Linked DNA regions of Homo sapiens: region 1 is linked to region 2. Evidence: promoter capture Hi-C in 16 types of primary human blood cells and fetal thymus (Javierre and others, 2016). All regions are on one chromosome and are shown on one strand. Each heading gives the region's core, a stretch centred on a gene start or on the middle of the fragment in contact. The rest is flanking DNA. Distances are from core to core; before and after follow the strand shown.

Region 1 (2,842 bases), core at 46-2,545, 530 kb before region 2:
CCACCTCCCAGATTCACGCCATTCTCCTGCCTCAGCCTCCCGAGTATCTGGGACTACAGGCGCCCTCCACCACGCCCAGCTAATTTTTTGTATTTTTTTTTTAGTAGAGACGGGGTTTCACTGTGTTAGCCTGGATGGTCTTGATCTCCTGACCTAGTGATCCACCCACCTCGGCCTCCCAAAGTGCTGGGATTACACGCATGAGCCACCGCGCCCGGCAACAATACTGGTTTTAAGTGCAAAGAGGAGATGATTCAAAGATAAATCATGTTACGCAGATAAGTGAACAGCAAATACTGGAGCTTGGGAATCACTGCCCCAGCCCAGGGCTTCTACAAGGAAAAGCCTTTCAGAGTCATGAGGGCAGGGAGGGAGGCAAGAGAAAGCTTCCCTTGGGAGGCCAAGGGAAGGATCGCTTGAGCTCAGGAGTTCAAAACCAGCCTGGACAACCTTGTCTCTACTAAAAATAAAAAAATAGGCCAGGCACAGTGGCTCACGCCTGTAATCCCAGCACTATGGGAGGCCAAAGTGGGCAGATCACCTGAGGTCAGGATTTCGAGACCAGCCTGGCCAACATGGAGAAACCCTATCTCTACTAAAAATACAAAAAATTAGCCGGGCGTGGTGGCGCATGCCTGTAATCCCAGCTACTCTGGAGGCTGAGGCGGGAGAATCGCTTGAACTTGGGAGATGGTGGTTTCAGTGAGCCAAGATCACACCATTGCACTCCAGCCTGGGCAACAAGAGCGAAACTCTGTCTCAAAAAAAAAAAAAAAGTCAGGTGTGGTGGCATGTGCCTGTAGTCCCAGCTACTCAGGAGGCTGAGGTAGGAGGATGGCTTGAGCCCAGGAGTTTAAGGTTGCAGTGAGCTGTGATCGCAGTACTGCACCCCAGCCTGGGTGACTAAGCAAGACACTGTCTCAAGAAAAAAAAAAAAAAGCTTCCTGGGCCTGCTGCTTCTGACACAGTCTATTGAGTCTCAGAGGCATTTCTGGACATGCCTTTGAGAACTACTGAACTCAGAGAAGAGAGTTCTCAAACTGAGTCCAAAGGAACTTCAGTGTACTACAAAATGTTACTAGATTACCTTGGGAGAGGTGGGGAAGGATTCCTGGGGAAGTACGTTTGAGAGGCCCTTCTCCAGTTCACTGCATGTTTTTTGTTTGTTTGTTTGTTTGTTTGTTTTTGAGATGGAGTCTCTCACTGTTGCCCCAGCTGGTGTGCAGTGGTGCGATCTCGGCTCGCTGCAATCTCCGCCTCCCGGGTTCAAGTAATTCTCCTGCCTCAGCCTCCCGAGTAGCTAGGATTACAGGCGCCCGCCACCATGCCCAGCTAATTTTTTGTACTTTTAGTAGAGACAGGGTTTCACTAGTAGAACAGCCAGGCTGTTCTCGAATTCCTGACCTCATGATCCACCCACCTCGGCCTCCCAAAGTGCTGGGATTACAGGTGTGAGCCACTGCACCCAGCCCACTGCATGTTAGATAGTCTGTTGAGGCCTGTGGAGTGCTCGGGTTAGGAAACCTGTTTAATGTTGCTTAGGACTCGTTCATCTTTGTAGCTTCAATACTTGGGACCTATAACGCTTTCTATAATCAGAGTGAATAAATGAAATGCTGTAGATGAGGAGGTGGGGGAGAGTGGTCAGTGGAAGCTTTAAGTAGTTACTAGCTTGATTCATTCATTACAAATGGGCAGCTGGGTGCAGTAGCTCATGCCTGTAATCCCAGTGTTTTGGGAGGCCAAGGCAGGAGGATCGCTTGAGGCCAGGAGATCAAGACCAGCCTAGGCAACATAGTGAGACCCTGTCTCTACAAAAAAATTGTTTAAAAATTAGCCAGGCGTGGTGACATGTGCCTGTGGTCCCAGCTACTCAGGAGGCTGAGGTGGGAGGATTGCTTGAGCCCAGTAGGTTGAGGCTGCGGTGAGCCTGAGTCCAGCCTGGGTTACAGAGTGAGACCCTGTCTCAAAAAAAATTTTTTTTCAAAAAGTGGAAAACGCAAATCTGCCCTTGTGGAATTTACATTGTAGTTGGAGGAACACAGTAATGTAATAGGGAAGATATTAGGGCTGTAAGTCCAGCTGCGGGCAGCTGGCTGTCAAGATGGGACAGGTGTGGATCAGAAGCAGAGATGAGTAAAGGAGGCAAGGACCCATGAGCACCAGAACTCAGTCAGGAATCAAGAAGCCCAAGGGTGGCTGGAGACGACTGGATAACACCAGTCCCCTTGGCATGACATCAGGCAGCATGCGTGGCATTTGTGTATGTGTTGGGCAGCACACTTTCTATGCTGGGAGGCCCACAGCTGGGATGAGCCCATGTGACCTGACAGCTGCCCTGTGGGCAGGCAGAGTGGGGGGGCTATTGCCTTCAATCATAAACGAGGCTTCTGAGGCTCAGGGAGAGGAACAGACTTGCCCAGGGTCTCATTTCCAGTTAGTGATGGAGTTGGGTTCCAATCCCAGTGCTCTTGGCTGAGGTCAGGTGCTTCTTGCTACCCTGTTGTCTGTGTGGCCAGAAGAGAGCTGGGGTGCACCCTTGGAGCTGGGGAGCCTGGGAACTGTGGGCTGCTGAGAGCTGAGGGCTGAGGTCTCTGTCTCCCCCCTATGGCCGCCAGGTGCTATGACAAGCGTCTGTGGCCTCGAATGGACCTGAGCCGGCGGAAGTCACTGACCCCGCCCATGCTCAGTGGTGTGGTTCGCCGCCAGCCCCGTGCCCTGGACCTCAGCTGGACAGGTGTCTCCAAGAAGCAGCTCATGTGGCTTCTGAACCGACTACAAGGTAGGGTGTGTGGTACGGAGGACAGGGTGGGGACAGGGACAGGCCTGGGATGGAGTCCTC
Region 2 (2,700 bases), core at 71-2,570:
CTATTCAGGTCGTTTGCCCATTTTTTCTTCTTTTTCTTTTTTATTCTTGACACAGGGTCTCCTCTGTTGCTCAGGAGTTCAGTGGCACAATCTCAGCTCACTGCAGCCTCTGCCTCCAGGTTTCAAGCAATTCTCCTGTCTCAGCCTCCCAAGTAGCTGGAATTACAGGCTCCCACCACCACGCACAGCTAATTTTGTGTTTTTAGTAGAGATGGGGTTTTGTCATGTTGGCCAGGCTGGTCTCGAACTCCTGACCTCAAGTGACCTGCCCGCCTTGACCTCCCAAAGTGCTAGGATTATAGGTGTGAGCCACCATGCCTGTCTCGCATTTTTAAAAAGCTCCCCAGGTTGTTCCGATTTGCTGCTGGGTTGATACTCACATTCCAGTGCTCAGATCTGTCCAGAAGAGTGGCTGCAGCACAGTTGTCTGTCCATAACTACCTCTATGGCCTCTCGTTTCCACCTCGTTTCTCAGGGTCTCAGTCCAGGGAAGGCCTTGCCACTTTGTGGCTGGAGACTGTGTCTTGCTTTCTGCTCTGAGTTCATCAGTAACTTGGGAAAGGGCTGTTTCAGAGCAGGCCTGGGCCACCTCAGTGCTGAGGAAGGGCTTTGTCTTGCAGGCTGGCTGGGGGTTGGTTGCCTGGGAGTGTTTTCCCCGAATTTGCAAGGGGCTTGCGCCCGGGTTCGAGTTTACGTGTGTCCATGACCAAGTCTTGGAGGGAAGGTCCTAGTGTAGAGTCTGTGGGTGGGTTCACTGTGTCTGTCCCCGTCCCTCAGATTTCTTTGTGTCTGGTATGTATGCCTCTTGGGGCCTCTATTTATCTGTCAGGGTCTCCGATGGGAGGGTCTCCGAACCTGAGGTCTAATTGAGCCTTAGAATATCACTCCTGCTACCAATCCAAAAATTCCGTCTGGGACAAGTCTCCCAGGAATGGCATGGGTGGGAGGGAGGCTCTTGTCTAGGACTCAGGCGCTAGCTTTGAGCGGTGTCTGTTTGGGGGCCTCAGTCCGTGTCTGTAAGTCTCCCTAGGGAGCGGCTCTGGGGCTTGGTCTGGAGAAGCCACTTCTCTCTGGCTCTGGCCTCCTGGGGCTCCCTGCAGCTGAGGCCAAGGCTGGGGTGTGGCCGCCTCCGCGGCAGGCCGGCGGGCTGGGCTCGGGTGGGCCGGGGCGCTCCCTCCTTTCCACGCCCCCACCTCGGGTTCCCCCGTTCATCGCCCCCCCATCCCCATCTCAGCGGGTCCCGGCTTCCTTACATGGTCACGGCCGGGCTTCCAGCTCCCGGACGTCCCCCGCCCCCCGCCCCCACCGGACACGGCCCCCGCCCTGTTCGCCCCGCGCCACCGGCCCGCGCCCCGCCATGGAGGACCTGGGTGAGTGGGGCCGGATCCCCGGGTCCGTGGCCCCTCACCGCTGCCCAGAGCTGCCTCCCCGCCGTCGCTCTCCCGCATCTCCCCATCCCTGTCTTCTTACTTCTGCTTTTCGCCTCTGCCCGCGCCTCCTTTCCAACTCCACGTCCCCCTTCCTGCCTCTCCCTTCCTGCCTTTCCTGGGCCGGCCGCTCCCTCCCTTCTTCCCTCGCTGTGCTCCTCCATCCCAGGCTGCGGCAGATGGAACGGGAGGTGCGGCGCCCGCGGGCGCCCGGGCGCGGGGCTCTGGGGAGGGAGGGGTTAAAGGGGCCTCGGCCCGGGGACCGGGAAAGTAGAGGGCACGGGAAAGTCTGGCATCAAGTTTTGGAGAAAAAAAGCGGGCCTGCCTGCACCAGAGTTTTGGGAGAGGAGGAGTTAAGGGCTCCTGAGCACAGTGAGGGTCAGGTCCTTGAGGCAAGGAAGAGAATAGTAACTCAGGAGTGCCTAGGCGCCCGCGAAGGCTTCAGGGTTTCACGCGGGTGCTCAGAGACGAAGACTGAGGGCAGGACTTCTGGGTTCTGGAAGTGAAAGGGCTCAAAAGACCCGGATCTGGGGATGCAGGGATGGAGAGAGGTGTCTTGTCCGGAAGGGGGACCCAGGTATCTCGTCCTCCCTGCGAAGCCTGGGGCTGGAAGGCTGTGCGCTCCACGGGAGAGAGGGGCTTCCGGCCCCTGGCGGTAGAGGGCGCTGCTCGGTAGGGGTAACTGACGCTGTACCGCAGATAAACAGCCAATCAGAAGGCAGGTCCCAGCGAAGCGCCAGTGAGGAGCCCAGGGCGGGACTCAGGGGCCTGGGAGTGGCCAGGCTGGGCGGGGCCTGTGTAGGTAGAGGGAGGAGTTAACCAGCATGGAAGAGAGAGCGTCCAATCAGAAAGCTGAGGGCCAGGCACTGGGCCAATGGAGCAATTTGGAGGGGAGCCAAATTTGGCTTGGGTGAAGAGCCCATTTTGACTGCATCAGAGAAGATGGGGAGAATAAAATAATCAGGAGGCTGGGTTTGTGCTTGGCTCCAAGCGTGAGCAACTGGGATATTCTGGTCATAAATATTCCTTGCTACCCTTCGAGCAGTGCTCTGCCTGGCTCTGGCCCTGTGACCTCTTCTCTTAATACTGGCTTCTGTCCTTCTCCAGTACTGCCCACTGGGAACCTTATCTTCTGATCTAACCGTGACCCTTGTCTCTCTCCCTGATGGCCTCTTCCTGCAGATGCCCTGCTCTCTGACCTGGAGACTACCACCTCGCACATGCCAAGGTCAGGGGCTCCCAAAGAGCGCCCTGCGGAGCCTCTCACCCCTCC

The links. Contacts are between HindIII fragments. The CHiCAGO score rates a contact against its expected background, and 5 or more counts as called.
Region 1: a contact is called between a fragment that was not itself captured here and the fragment with the promoter of TGFB1I1 in region 2, in 2 of 17 cell types (naive CD8 T cells and non-activated CD4 T cells). The highest score is 6.4, in naive CD8 T cells.

Annotation. Positions count from the first base shown.
Region 1 is chr16:30,939,498-30,942,339 of GRCh38, forward strand. FBXL19 (F-box and leucine rich repeat protein 19) reads left to right here. Exons shown (of 11, transcript NM_001382779.1): 8 at 2,619-2,782. Among named protein-coding and RNA genes, the nearest start is that of ORAI3, 8.1 kb to the right of the region's middle. RefSeq lists a silencer at 2,513-2,642. The HindIII fragment of the contact is 714 bases long and covers 939-1,652 here.
Region 2 is chr16:31,470,832-31,473,531 of GRCh38, forward strand. It overlaps TGFB1I1 (transforming growth factor beta 1 induced transcript 1), which reads left to right and starts at 1,321. Exons shown (of 11, transcript NM_001042454.3): 1 at 1,321-1,370; 2 at 2,610-2,700. The coding sequence starts at 1,358. RefSeq lists an enhancer at 1,660-2,200. The HindIII fragment of the contact is 20,246 bases long and covers 1-2,700 here.